Regions from separate parts of the Homo sapiens genome. Here regions 1, 2, 4 and 5 are each linked to region 3. Evidence: promoter capture Hi-C in 16 types of primary human blood cells and fetal thymus (Javierre and others, 2016). All regions are on one chromosome and are shown on one strand. Each heading gives the region's core, a stretch centred on a gene start or on the middle of the fragment in contact. The rest is flanking DNA. Distances are from core to core; before and after follow the strand shown. Region 1 overlaps RAI14 (retinoic acid induced 14). Region 2 overlaps LOC124900637 (a long non-coding RNA gene). Region 3 holds the start of SLC45A2 (solute carrier family 45 member 2). Region 4 holds the start of LOC124900958 (a long non-coding RNA gene). Region 5 holds the start of RAI14 (retinoic acid induced 14).

Region 1 (2,700 bases), core at 59-2,558, 810 kb before region 3:
AGGCATGGGCAATCAAAGCCATTACAATTTAACCTGTTTATTGGGACAGAAAAAAATGAGAAGTGTTTTTCTAGATGCACTTTTTTCCATGCAGTGTTCTTCTTTTGTTCCCGTGTTCTCTTTGCATGCTTTCAAGAAATCATGGGAAGAAGCTGGTACCTCCTTCAGGCCAAAATAAAACGATGAAGCCCAAGGAGGGAAGTGCTGGAATCATGGCTAAAAATATCAGGTGAGAAGGAAGTGACGGGAGCTCTGAGACATCTTCAACCCATGGAATGTTTGGACAATGTCCTGTGGCCCCAAAGTGCTGTGGATTCCACCAATTTCAATTGGTTCCCACTGGCGAATCCTGGGAAATATCCAGGCTGTGTCCACAGCACTCCCTCCAGTGTTGCTTCTTAGAGAGTGGTACCATCTCAGTCTGCAGGAAGTGGGCACTGCCTTGGGGCATCCAGGTCTTCCTGCTCAGCACTGCACCAGCCTCTCAGGAACTGGGTTAGGGCTCTGGTGGTAAATATGAGCTCTACCCACAGGGTGTTATGAGGCCACCAAGAACTATGCTTCTTAAGAGCCTTTAATGGGGGAAATGAAACTGGCGGGATATTTAATAAATTAAAATGCAGGATATAGAATTTATTATATAATGTGATCTCAGGCATGTAAAAATGTATTGGGACAATCTGGAAGGAAATACAACAAAATAGAAATATTTTTTTTCTTTCTGATAGGAGTAGGAACTTGAGTTATCTTCTTCTTTATAGTTTACTATATTTCTCAACTTTTCTACAATAAGCATGTATTAAAAAAAAAAAAAAACTTATTCTGGCCGGGCTTGGTGGCTCACGCCTGTAATTCCAGCACTTTGGGATGCCAAGGCGGGTGGATCACCTGAGGTCAGGAGTTCAAGACCAGCCTGGCCAAGATGGTGAAACCCCGCCTCTACTAAAAATACAAAAATTAGCCGGGCGTGGTGGTGGTGGGTGCCTGTAATCTGAGTTACTCAGGAGGCTGAGGCAGGAGAGTCACTTGAACCTGGGATGCGGAGGTTGCAGTGAGCAGAGATCGTGCCAGTGCACTCCAGCCTGGGCAACAGAGCAAGACTCCGTCTCAAAAACAAACAAACAAAAAAACACACACAAAAAACCAACTTATTTTTCCCTACAATAAAAAGACGTGAGGGAAGATTTTGGTTATGCTGAAAATAACTACAGTCCTGTCTAATCTATTTCTTAATATCAAGTACAATGAAACAAAACCGTGTGACGGCACCAGTTTATTCACTCTGAGCTAATGCTTTCAGATTATGGGTTTCTTAGAGGGAAACTTCTCCTACTTAAGAGGACATACATCTCATTAGGGGTATTTTAGCAAATCATACTGCACCATGTGGTTTTATGGCATAACTTTAAGAGCAATGACAATGAACTTTAAAAACAAACACAATAATTGGGTCTTGAGTTTAAAGATGACTTTAATTGGAAAAACATAAATTAGTATTTCCCTCAAGGCAGTCACTTAAGGAAACCATTTATCCCCCTATATTGGTGTTGCCATTTCTCAAAATATTTTTGGAACTTTCTGTGGAACTGCTCAGAAAAATCATTCTGTTATTTCAATCACTCCCTATTTTTGACCAAAAATGGTTTTACCAGTTTGAAACATCATTCACCTGACTTGACATCAAATTTTTTTAGGGCTCTTAGGTTTGCCCTAAAAAAAAACCCTATTCTCAAAGGATAAAGATTCCCAACCACTGAGATTCTTTTTTTTAAGTCCTCACACAATGAAAACAATTCTAAACCTGTTCCCAACCATATTTTGAGTAATAATAGCATTCCTGCAATACCTGGCTGATCCCTCAAGATGACTAGTCTGAAGAGGCCAATTTTGGGGATGGGAGAAAAGAAAGGGATCCATTACGGATTCACGAAAAGCCTAGATAAAGGCAATGGAGTTAGGCTAATTTTGTATCCCAGTAAACACTAATAGAAACCTATTAGAAGCCAAAAATTCTCGAGTACAATCGAAAAATGAAAAGCCATCAGTGGTTGCTTTGGTCTTTTGGGGTGGCCAGCAGGGGCAGAATCCCAGGCTGGAGACCCCAGGGGCTCCTTCTTATAGGACAGTGTTTTATACAAGGTAAGACTACGCTACCTTTTCTCTCCATTTGCCTTGTTCATCTTTTGTCAACACTGGCTTCACATTAGAATCACCCAGCGAGCTTTAAAAAAATACCAGTTGACTGGCAACTTCCAGACAATGGAATCTGAATCTCAGAGGGTAAAGTGTAGGTATATATATTTGTGTGTGTGTGTATGTGTGTGTGTGTTTGTGTGTGTGTGTACTGTTTATTCTTCTCTTTTCCCTTCCTTCAAGTTCCCAGGTGAACTGGATGCCCTGAAGTACAGCAAGGGGTGAGAATCGTGGGCAGCTGGTCCAGATGAAGTTCAAGGCTTCCATCTACAGAGCCTATCTCAGTTGATGAAATGAGCTCCTGAGTAACTCACTCATCACCTCACACAATGATTCATAAAAACAAAAATTAGGGACTATTGCTTGGTCTGTACATATAATCTTAGAAAATAATATAAAAAATGAGGATAAGAAGCATACAGTCTCTAGTTGACTAACCACATGAAAGATGAAAACTCAGAAGTATGGCTATACAACAAAACCATGTCAGAGTCTTGCTATTGGAGG
Region 2 (2,700 bases), core at 158-2,657, 700 kb after region 3:
CTGGGTCGGGAAGAGAACGATCAGAAGCTGCCACCATTCACGTTTTATTATTTATTATTAATTGTCTCACTTTAGAGGAAAACTCCAAAGATGGTCAAATACAGTGACTTTTCATTGATTTCTCAGAAAACTGCTAAGTCGGCAGAATAAAGTAAGATATGTCACTAATTTTTATTATTTAGAGATGTTTTGCTTACTTTTTGAACATAGAAATTTAGTGTTTGCTGAAAGCAAACTGGTTCACATTTTTTTTGCAGGGATAAATAATAGGAAGGCTGGTTTTTGGCAAAATTATGAGATAGCAATGTTGATTTTTGGTGATTTCTCACACCTTCCTTCAGCATATACCTTTCTTTCATTTTTCAGATTCTTCAGTTCTTCAACTCTTGAGTTGCTACAATAATCCACCTACCCCCGAACCCCAACCTCCTTAACTTCACCTTGTCTCTGACATCTCAATTTTAAGGGGAATTCCTAAAGAATCCAAAACCTTCAAGATGCAAAAGAATGCAAGATACAAAGGAGTAGTGACAGGCAATGAGAAATGTTCTTTTGGAATAAAAAGTTACTTCCTGAAATATAGATAGGTAGCTAATGCTACTTATTTTTTCTTCCATGGTCAGGTCTGGGGCACTGGGAAGAATGAGTAAAGGGCAGCGTAGTTCCTGTGTGCTGGACCAGTGTTTATTATGTAGGCCAAGTAGTATTTTGTAAGCCAAATGACCTTCTTAGACTGAGTTCCAAGACTAGGCTATTTAGATCAGATCCACGTGATATAAATATTGCATATCATATGAAACTGAAGACAGTGACCAGATACTGACCTCCCAGGTTGTGGCGCCGAAAGATTAATGAATGGATGAAGTTTGGGTTTCTGACAGCATTTTGGCTTTTAGAAAAAGTTGTGAGCAATGGTAGTGACAAGCAAGTAAAGGACTGTTGTATCTAAGTCTAAATAAACAAAAAGATAGGAGCAGACTGAATATAAATAGATGAAGGTTTTTCTTCTTAGCGCCAAGATAAAGCACATAGCAAAGCAGAATCTTTATTTATGATGATTATAGAGTCGAGTTTGAGTTCATTGCTCTTGAGAAGAATAAGCAAATCTGTGTATTTTTAAACATCTTCCATGCTAAATTTTATTTTTAATGAAATCATGTGCATCAGTTTAAAGAGAAACAATATTCTTGAATCCATATAACTTCAATTATTGGCATGAAGAATGTGGTTTAACAAGACACTATCCTACAGTTTTCTTACGGAGTCAGTTTCTTCTTCAAAAAGCAAAACCATTCTTAACTCTATAAGAAAATGATAAGCTATTGTATTTCCCATTCCAAGGAAAGTTATTCCAGCACAGCAAGCTGCAGCCATCATGATAAATCTTAGAGCCAGTCACCAGAGTGTTTCTATATTGCTCATGAAGCCTTAGCATATTTTATATCCTACACAGTGTAGTGGAGAAAATTAAGCCTTGCAACAGCTAGGGACTTATGCCAGGGTAATTTCCTTAAATAAATTTATTTGTTTTATTTAATTTATTATAAAAGTCATTAATACATAGCTTATAGAATTTCTGCCATAAAAACGCCTGAGGAGATGCTCAGTCAATTTTTTTTTTTTAAATCTAGAGGTCTAGAGATCGGTCAAAGGTCACGTCATGAGTTGGTCCCAGAGCTGACTCCCAGTCCACTGCTCCTGCTACTTTTCCAGTCACCCTCCTGAGATGGCCCGCTTGTCTGTATGCACATACAGAAAGAAGTACTGGGAAAAGTAGGAAATAATACTTAAAGCCCTTCCATTTGTATTTCCAGAGCCTGTCAGAGAGAATTTGGCAACCCAAGTAAAGTCTTTAGAGACATCAGAGTATTTATTCTTCACTCCGGTGACCAAATTTAGACCTGTCTGAGATTTTTTTTTTTTTTAATTATACTTTAAGTTTTAGGTACATGTGCACAATGTGCAGGTTAGTTACATAAGTATACATGTGCCATGCTGGTGTGCTGCACCTATTAACTCGTCATTTAGCATTAGGTATATCTCCTAATGCTATCCCTCCCCCCTCCCCCCACCCCACAACAGTCCCCAGAGTGTGATGTTCCCCTTCCTGTGTCCTTGTGTTCTCATTGTTCAGTTCCCACCTATGAGTGAGAACATGCAGTGTTTGGTTTTTGTCCCTGCGATAGTTTACTGAGAATGATGATTTCCAATTTCATCCATGTCCCTACAAAGGACATGAACTCATCATTTTTTATGGCTGCATAGTATTCCATAGTGTATATGTGCCACATTTTCTTAATCCAGTCTATCATTGTTGGACATTTGGGTTGGTTCCAAGTCTTTGCTATTGTGAATAGTACCGCAGTAAACATATGTGTGCATGTGTCTTTATAGCAGCATGATTTATATTCCTTTGGGTATATACCCAGTAATGGGATGGCTGGGTCAAATGGTATTTCTAGTTCTAGATCCCTGAGGAATCGCCACACTGACTTCCACAATGGTTGAACTAGTTTACAGTCCCACCAACAGTGTAAAAGTGTTCCTGTTTCTCCACATCCTCTCCAGCACCTGTTGTTTCCTGACTTTTTAATGATCGCCATTCTAACTGGTGTGAGATGGTATCTCATTGTGGTTTTGATTTGCATTTCTCTGATGGCCAGTGATGATGAGCATTTTTTCACGTGTTTTTCGGCTGCA
Region 3 (2,700 bases), core at 167-2,666:
GCCATGTGTGTGATCATGTGTAATAGCATGTGTGTATGAGAGAGAGAAGCCATATGTAATTATGTGTAATAACGTCTGTGAGAGAGAAGCCATGTGTGTGATCATGTAAAATAACGTGTGTGAGAGAAGCCATGTGTGTGATCGTGTAAAATAACGTGTGTGAGAAGCCGTGTGTGATGTGTAATAACACGTGTGTGAGAGAGAAGCTATGTGTGCAATCATGTGTAATAGCATGTGTGTGTGAGAGAAGCCATGAGTCCGATCATGTGTAATAACGAGAAAAGCCCCATGTGTGATCATGTGTAATAGTGTGTGTGAGAGAAAAGCCATGTGTGTGGTCATGTGTAATAATGTGTATGAGAGAGAAGCCGTGTGTGATCGTTGTGTAATAACGTGTGTGAGAGAGAAACCATGTGTGATCATGTGCAATAGCATGTGTGTGTGAGAGAAGCCATGTGTGATCATGTGCAATAGTGTGTGAGAGAGAAGCTGTCATGTGTAATAATGTGTGAGAGAAGCCATGTATGATCATGTGTAATAACGTGAGAGAAGCCATGTGTGACCATGTGTAATAACGTGTGTGAGAGAAGCCATGTGTGTGGTCATGTGTAATAAAATGCATGAGAAGCCATGTGTGATCATGTGTAATAGCATGTGAGAGAGAAGCCATGTATGATCATGTGTAATAACGCATGTGAGAGAAGCCATGTGTGACCATGTGTAATGTGTGTGAGAGAAGCCATGTGTGATCATGTGTAATAGCATGTGTGTGAGAAGCCATGTGTATGATCATGTGTAATAACATGCATGAGAGAAGCCGTGTGTGATCATGTGTAATAGCATGTATGTGAGAAACCATGTGTGATCATGTGTAATGTGTGTGAGAGAAGCCATGTGTGTGATCATGTGTAATAGCATGTGTGTGAGAAGCCGTGTGTGATCATGTGTAATAGCATGTGTGTGTGAGAAGCCAGGTGTGATCACGTTTAATAGCGTGTGTGTGAGAGAAGCCATGTGTGTGATCATGTGTAATAATGTGTGTGTGAGAGAAGCCACGTGTGTGATCATGTGTAATAGCATGTGTGTGTGAGAGAGAAACCATGTGTGTGATCATGTGTAATACTGTCTGAGAGAGCCCATGTGTGTGATCACGTGTAATAACGTGTGTGTGAGAGGGAGAGAAGCCATGTGTGTGATCACGTGTAATTGTGTGTGTGTGTGAGAGAGAGAGAAAGAGAGAGGGAACAGTACAAAGGAGGATCCCTTTAGAAAAGTATTCCAACGTCTTATGGAGCCAGAGGGCTGATTCACAGCTGCTAATCTCTGTCATGCTTTCCAGCACCACCCCCTCCCTCTCATCATAACTTGTGATCTTAGAGGCAGGAAAGAATTTGAGCCCCTCCCCCAGCCTGACCATCTCTGTTGGTTGCTCGGCCAGGCTCCACGTCAAATCCAGTTTGAAACACAGACCCTAGGACCACGCAGGAGGTGGTGGGCTCGCAGGAAGGTTCCTCTCCCAGTGGCCATGGGTAGCAACAGTGGGCAGGCTGGCCGCCACATCTATAAATCCCTAGCTGATGATGGCCCCTTTGACTCTGTGGAGCCGCCTAAAAGACCCACCAGCAGACTCATCATGCACAGCATGGCCATGTTCGGAAGAGAGTTCTGCTACGCGGTGGAGGCAGCGTATGTGACCCCAGTCCTGCTCAGCGTAGGTCTGCCCAGCAGCCTGTACAGCATTGTGTGGTTCCTCAGCCCCATCCTGGGATTCCTGCTGCAGCCCGTGGTCGGATCGGCCAGCGACCACTGCCGGTCCAGGTGGGGCCGCCGGAGACCCTACATCCTCACCCTGGGAGTCATGATGCTCGTGGGCATGGCTCTGTACCTCAATGGGGCTACTGTTGTAGCAGGTAAGTGGGCTGCACAAGGTGGGCAGACAGGGATATGTGTCTTAGTGTGTACCTCTGCAGGAGGAGGATGTTCATGTGTTTGACCTTTCCTAGAAATTTGTTAGAATTGATCTCTCCTAGGTTACAATGAACTTCCCCTTTGACAAATTTGGCCCAGATTCTGTGGTTGGGGAGCCTCTACTTCTAGAAATATCAAAATAAATATGTTTCATTGTTGTGAAGATTTAAAAATAGGATTAAATTTGTATCTATTTTATTAAATTTGTATCTATTTTATCGAATTGAATATTTTTACATATTTATCAATTGAGTTACTTTTTGAGCCCATTATGCTCTATTTAATACTCTTATCAAATTGACTGGCTGCCAAATAGCTCCATAAATATTTACAATAAGTCACCTGTGTATCCAAATAAGTTAATTCTGTTCATAGTTTTATGTAGAGCGTTTTAATAGGCGTAGGGCATAAGCCCATCAGCTCAAGAGGACCTTTCTGGCATTGCAAATTCTGGACAAAAGCAAACCTGAGGGTAGGCATTTTTTCTAGCCATTAATCAGCTACCAATTAATCAGTAATTGATGGTAGTACAATAAAGTTGCATTGCAAAAAGGATCGCTAAAAATAGCACACATTTGTAGATCATTAACTCTCAAGCTAGCAGAATCGGTGATTATGAGGCAGGATAATCAATTATCATTTGTACATATTTGAAAGAAAGCGTAAATGTACAAATGTAGGATATTTCCAGGAGAATGAACAAAAAGCTGATAAGCATTGTTGACTCTAAGG
Region 4 (2,700 bases), core at 16-2,515, 540 kb before region 3:
GCCTTTTCTAGTTTCCCAATTCTTAATTGCCCCTGGCCAATTTCACATCCAAGAATGAAAAATGACTCCAGTCTACTGGTGGTTGAACACGCTGATGGCTGCAGGTGCTTCCTTTGCACAACAGCCAGGCCAATTAAAGGGCAAGATGTGACCCAGACAGTCACCCTTGAAGCTCTCTACCGTTTACAATGTTCTGAAAGAATGCTGGTGGGTGCCCCAACAGTCACCTGTGTGCTTCCTTAGCACCCTGCCAGCCCTGCTGATGCTGTTGCAATAGCCTATCATTGTTTAGCATATGTCAGGTGCACTTACAGAGGGTGCCTTATCTGAAAGGCCCTGAGCATATGCAGTTGGCCCTCAGTATCTGTGGATTCCATGACTGGATCCAATTAGCCATGGATAAAAAGTATTTGGAAACAAATTGCATTTGTACTAAACATGTACAGACTTTTTTCCTCATCATTATTTCCTAAATAACACAGTGTAACAATTATTTACATAGCATTTATATTAGCAATCTAGAGATCTTAAGTAATCTAGAGATGACATAAAGTATACAGGAGGTTGTGCATAGGTTATATGCAAATACTGCACCATTTTGTATCAAGGACTTGCGCATCTGTGGATTTTGGTGTCTGAGGGAGGTCCTAGAACCAATCTCCCATGCACACCAAAGGACGACTGTATTTGTAAAACCTAAATTCTCATTAAGAAGCTGAAGTTAATAAGTAAAAACCAACCAACCAACCAACCAACCAACCAACCAAACTAGTGAGAGGGGGTAAAAGTTTCCATTAGGATGACTAGATTTAACAAAAAAATACAGACAGGAAACTCAGTTAAATTTGAATTTCAGATAAACAACAAATGTTTTTTGATGTACATGAATTCTGTGCAATATTTGGGACATACTCATACTAAAAATTATTTGTTATGTACCTGTATCTGAAATTCAAATGTACCTGAGTGTCCTATTATTGATTCAACCACCCTAGTTCCTGTGGAATTCCATGGTCAGGATATCCGATGAAACAAACCTTGACTCTTGACTGTTGGAACTAAATCTGGGAATCTGGTACTCTTCCAGTTCTGACATTGGCAGGTCTTCTTGATTGTTGCTGTTCCCAAATGAGGGACCAAGTTCTTCGGGGAGTTCCACAGGAAGGCTCGGGCATGACCCGGCTCCTGGGAACTCCCTATAACAGGAGGTGCACAGCCAGTTCACGGAAAATGCAACTGTCACAGTGAAGTCAGCATGTTTTTATATATGCAGTCTAATCACAAAGTGCTTTCGGATAACCTTCTCATTTGATTCCTCAACAGCCCTGAATAGGGCTTAGCAAATATCTTCTCTGCTTCAGATGAGAAAACACTGAGGTGATGTTGGCCAAGTCAGTGCCAATTAAGCAGTGAGTTAAGGGTCACCTGAGCTGTCAGGCCCTAAGACCAATTTTACCTTGCTTTTTTGTTAGAACAGACTACTTTGTTACTAAAGTCAAATACACTTTTCCAAAACCATTACATTATGGGTTTTTTCTATTTATAAAAGTAATATTTGATTATTGCAGAAAACATGAAAATCACAGACAAAAAAAGAATAGAAGAGAAATCAGCAAAGGAAGTAATTCTACCCTTGTGAGATAACTACTGCTAACATGGAGGTGTATGGCCTTCCATTCTCTGTCCTTCTTATATATATTAATATATGATCAGTTTTAAATAAGAAAGGCCAAGTCCTCTTACACACATGCATGCATATATGAATGATAAAAATATAAATGTATGAATAGTTGTATACGTGAAGCTCATCATATGCATATGTGCACAAACATGTCTATACGTAATATGAACTTATATTATTTTGAAATTAGATTATTTATTTTTGGCATTAATCAGATCTTAAGACTGAGCACAAAAATGAGGTGAAAATCACCAAATAAACTCTGGATAAAGAGTGTAGGCAATGGCCGGGTGGTGTGGCTCACGCCTGTAATCCCAGCACTTTGGGAGGCTGAGGCGGGCAGGTCTCTTGAGCCCAGGAGTTTGAGACCAGCCTGGGCAACAAGGCAAAATCATCTCTACAAAAAAATAGAAAAATCAGCCAGGTAGGTGCCTGTAGTCCTAGCTACTTTGGAGGCTGAGATGAGAGGATCACCTGAGCCGGGGGAGGTCTTAGCTGCAGTGAGCCATGATTGTGCCACTTTACTCCAGCCTGGGCGACAGAGCGAGACTCCGTCTCATAAAAAAATAAAAAATAAAAAAATAAAAATAAAAAGAGTGTGGGCAGTGAAGGACATGAGAACAATGTCTCACCACAGTGATGAGTGAGCCTATCCTTCACATTGAATCTGTTCCTAATTAAAAATGAGTGTTTGGTGGGTAAAGAGGGTAAAGCTAAAAAGATCTGTCCCTAATGCTTTCCCACTGAACTATTGACTTACCCTGACTACTACCTTGTCAACAATTTATCTCCCCTTTGGACATAAACATTGATAATCCAGAACTGATGTTGCTGTGACTCCAGTAGCACTTGGTACTCAGCTGTAATATGTCTGTGATCAATGTTTTCATCGATATGTAATGCTTATATGCAACCTTAGAACCACTTCTTGTTTGAAGGTCTTGAGATGATTATTCATTTGAAGAGGTCAATACTTACATGACAATATCTTATATGACAACTAAAATGGTTTATTTTTG
Region 5 (2,700 bases), core at 188-2,687, 670 kb before region 3:
AGCTTCGGCTATGTCCTAGTGATGGACAGTTCCTCTCTGCCAGGCCCCTGCAGCCTTGAGACCACATTCCCCAGAGATCCGGCAACGTTTCCCCATCCCAGGCAGCTGGGCATTCTCCTCTCCCGGAAGGAAGACGGAATCCCACCCCGATCATGCGTGAGCTGCGGCGAAGAGAAGCCGCTGGTCCCGAGGCGAGGGGCCTCGAGTCCGCAGATTCCCCTCAACATTTCTGGGAGTAAAGTTGGGCTTAGCTGGGCTCCTGGCAAATAAAGAGGAGCCTGGAAAGACAGCCATGCTCAGGCCCCCGTGAGGCCACTTCGGACCCCTCCACGCTGTGCTGGGCTGCATCTGCCTTAATTCCCCGTCTGTTGCTTCTCCAGGCTCTGAGCCCCCTCCACAAAAGGGGGATGCGAAACTCAAAGGAGTTAGGATGTCAACCCTGCAAACCGCAGAAACTAAACCGACACCAACCTGCCCAAGAAGGCAGCGAAGGTGGTTGAGGACGACACCCCACCCCCCACCCCCCACCAGGCAGGGGTCGCGGGAGATGGCGGGCGCCTTTCTGGTGGCTCCACGTCCTCCTTACTCCCGAAGTCCCGGCGGCCCCGAGTCTGCCCCAACTCCAGCATCCGTTCTCCCCGAGCTGCGGCGGGGAAAACAAGGTAGGGGGCAGGGGCAGGCCCAGAGGGGTCTCGCCCCCGCCCTTGGGCCGGCCGAGGGGCTCCCTGGAGTCAGAGGAGGAACAATAGCGGACCCCGCGTCCTGGGAGCCACCCGGAGTCTCCCGCTCGCACCTCCCTCCCCACCTCCTCCAAGTTCAGCCGGGAGGCGGATTGGGCTCAGCAGCACCGACGCGGGGGCAGCGAGGCGCCGCGCGGGGCGAAACAGGTGGGACCCGGCGCAGACTCCAGGGTGCATCTCCGGGTCTGCTCATTCATTCCCACCCGCGCTCCCTCCGCCGCGGCCCCTGCCCCGCGCCCCGCCCCAGCCGGCCTGCGAGTCGCGGAGGACCCGGGAAGAACCCTTCTCCTAACTTGGCCGGGTCTTCCCGCTCTACCCTCATCTCCACCTTCCTCTCCTTCCTCTTGTCCCCAGATCTGCTCTCCGCAGACAGTGGGCTGCCGGCGGTGGACCAGGGAGAGGTGGCGGGACCCCGGCTGCAGCCCGCTCAGCCGCTCCGCCCGGGCGCCGTCCCCAGCGCCTCCCGCGCCCGAGCTCCAGACACAAAGGCGGGGACACGAGCCCGGGACCCCGCGCCGGGAGCCTCCCAACTCCGTGCCGCGCACTCACCCCATCGAGGCGGCGGCGGCGCTCCCCGGACCCAGCTGGCTGCTCCACCCCGCCCGCCGCTTCCCCAGGAAAACGCGGCCGCCGGGCTCGCTTCCTGCTCGGCTTCCTGCGCCGCAGTCCCTCCTCCTCCCCCGCTGCGGGGGTCAGTGGGCGCCGAGCTCCCGGGCTAGGCCGGCGGGGCGGGGGCAGCGGCAGCACCACCACGTGGCCGCCGGGCGCCGGCCCCCGCCGACCTGGATCCAGTGGGAGCGGGAAGGGAGGCGCTAACCATTCCCCTCCCATTCCACCCCTCGCGGCCCCAAATTCCGCGAGTCAGGTGACCCGGCCCCGGGCTCTGGCCGGGACCTGCGGGGGGTGCTCTCCGCCCTCCAGCCCCCGGCGCATCTCCCCGGCCCGCGCGTCCCGGCTGTTCGTGGCTTGCTTTTAGTCTCCAGGGATCGTGGGACCCTTCTCCGCGGATCTGTTTCATCCTCTTAACCTGAAGTTAGTGGAAGCCCCCCACGCTCTGACCCCTGGGTTTAGGACGGATGAGATCCCAGATACTGTTTATTTCTGATTAACTTCCAAAGTCGTTTGTGGTAGTGGCGAGTGTTTCAAAGTCACGGATCCAAGCCCCTTCTGACCAGAATCTAAAAGGTTGTTTTCCAAAATCATTGAACAGAAAGTAAAGTAGAATGTGCTCACGTTCTCCGGACTGAACCAATTGGTTGAAGTGACTGTTTTCTAGCACTCATTGGGTGGCAAGGCAAGACTACCACCGTTCAGTGTTGTTCTGCTCAGGAGTTAGAAAGGAGAAACCTACAGCCTGAACTGACAGGCGAGATTGCGCATGGGAACGCCTTCAAAATAGTGTGTGAGAAGCCACGGGGTACAGGCTCACTGCCCCAGGTCCCCGACAGCTTCTCTCCCTATCCCAGCCCACTAAGGCCCGACCTTTCAATTACGATGGACTCCACCATTAATTCCAAGGATTTCAAAGCTCTCTATCTACCCACTCATCTAATTTGGGCTGGCTTTTCCATGCATTCTAGTCATGCTAACCAGCTGTGACTTCAGTTCTGTTCACCTAAGCTCCTCCCTTCTCCTCGTTAGCTCTGCCTCCTTTGCTCAGGGAAGAAAGCTTTCTAGAATAAATAACGTATTGAGTTCTTTCTGGGATCTACTGTAAGTCAATTGAACTTAAGAGGGAAAAAAGGTCGATTCCAACAAAATTGAAATTCACCCTAACAGCTCAGTTTATAACGTGTCAGCTACATACTAATATTTATATGGCAGATATTACCTGTTCCCTCCCCCCGCCCCATCCCCCTTTCCTTCCTCCCTCTCCCTACTAGGGAAGAGCCTATCTCCCCTTTAACAGTTGAACTTGACAAACAAGCATCAAAAGCCTTGTAACTAGGTGCAGGGTCTT

The links. The method cuts DNA at HindIII sites, captures the fragments that hold promoters and counts their contacts. A CHiCAGO score of 5 or more calls a contact.
Region 1: a contact is called between a fragment that was not itself captured here and the fragment with the promoter of SLC45A2 in region 3, in 8 of 17 cell types (M2 macrophages, naive CD8 T cells, naive CD4 T cells and 5 more). The highest score is 10.8, in M2 macrophages.
Region 2: a contact is called between a fragment that was not itself captured here and the fragment with the promoter of SLC45A2 in region 3, in 1 of 17 cell types (monocytes). The highest score is 11.9, in monocytes.
Region 4: a contact is called between a fragment that was not itself captured here and the fragment with the promoter of SLC45A2 in region 3, in 5 of 17 cell types (total CD8 T cells, total CD4 T cells, non-activated CD4 T cells and 2 more). The highest score is 7.5, in total CD8 T cells.
Region 5: a contact is called between the fragment with the promoter of RAI14 here and the fragment with the promoter of SLC45A2 in region 3, in 4 of 17 cell types (naive CD8 T cells, activated CD4 T cells, monocytes and 1 more). The highest score is 8.3, in naive CD8 T cells.

The regions. Positions count from the first base shown.
Region 1 is chr5:34,796,463-34,799,162 of GRCh38, reverse strand. The region is part of intron 4 of RAI14 (retinoic acid induced 14); the gene reads right to left. Among named protein-coding and RNA genes, the nearest start is that of TTC23L, 41 kb to the left of the region's middle. The HindIII fragment of the contact is 9,604 bases long and covers 1-2,700 here.
Region 2 is chr5:33,279,791-33,282,490 of GRCh38, reverse strand. All of the region lies in intron 1 of LOC124900637 (a long non-coding RNA gene), which reads left to right. Among named protein-coding and RNA genes, the nearest start is that of LINC02160, 51 kb to the right of the region's middle. The HindIII fragment of the contact is 7,284 bases long and covers 1-2,700 here.
Region 3 is chr5:33,983,409-33,986,108 of GRCh38, reverse strand. It overlaps SLC45A2 (solute carrier family 45 member 2), which reads left to right and starts at 1,416. Exons shown (of 7, transcript NM_016180.5): 1 at 1,416-1,910. The coding sequence starts at 1,526. The HindIII fragment of the contact is 8,753 bases long and covers 1-2,700 here.
Region 4 is chr5:34,524,429-34,527,128 of GRCh38, reverse strand. LOC124900958 (a long non-coding RNA gene) reads right to left here and starts at 1,173. Exons shown (of 3, transcript XR_007058727.1): 1 at 1,038-1,173. RefSeq lists enhancers at 1-67, 68-568. The HindIII fragment of the contact is 3,528 bases long and covers 1-2,700 here.
Region 5 is chr5:34,655,065-34,657,764 of GRCh38, reverse strand. RAI14 (retinoic acid induced 14) reads right to left here and starts at 1,437. Exons shown (of 18, transcript NM_015577.3): 1 at 1,290-1,437. RAI14-DT (RAI14 divergent transcript) reads left to right here and starts at 1,592. Exons shown (of 3, transcript NR_183264.1): 1 at 1,592-1,772. RefSeq lists a silencer at 1,430-1,479. The HindIII fragment of the contact is 8,769 bases long and covers 1-2,411 here.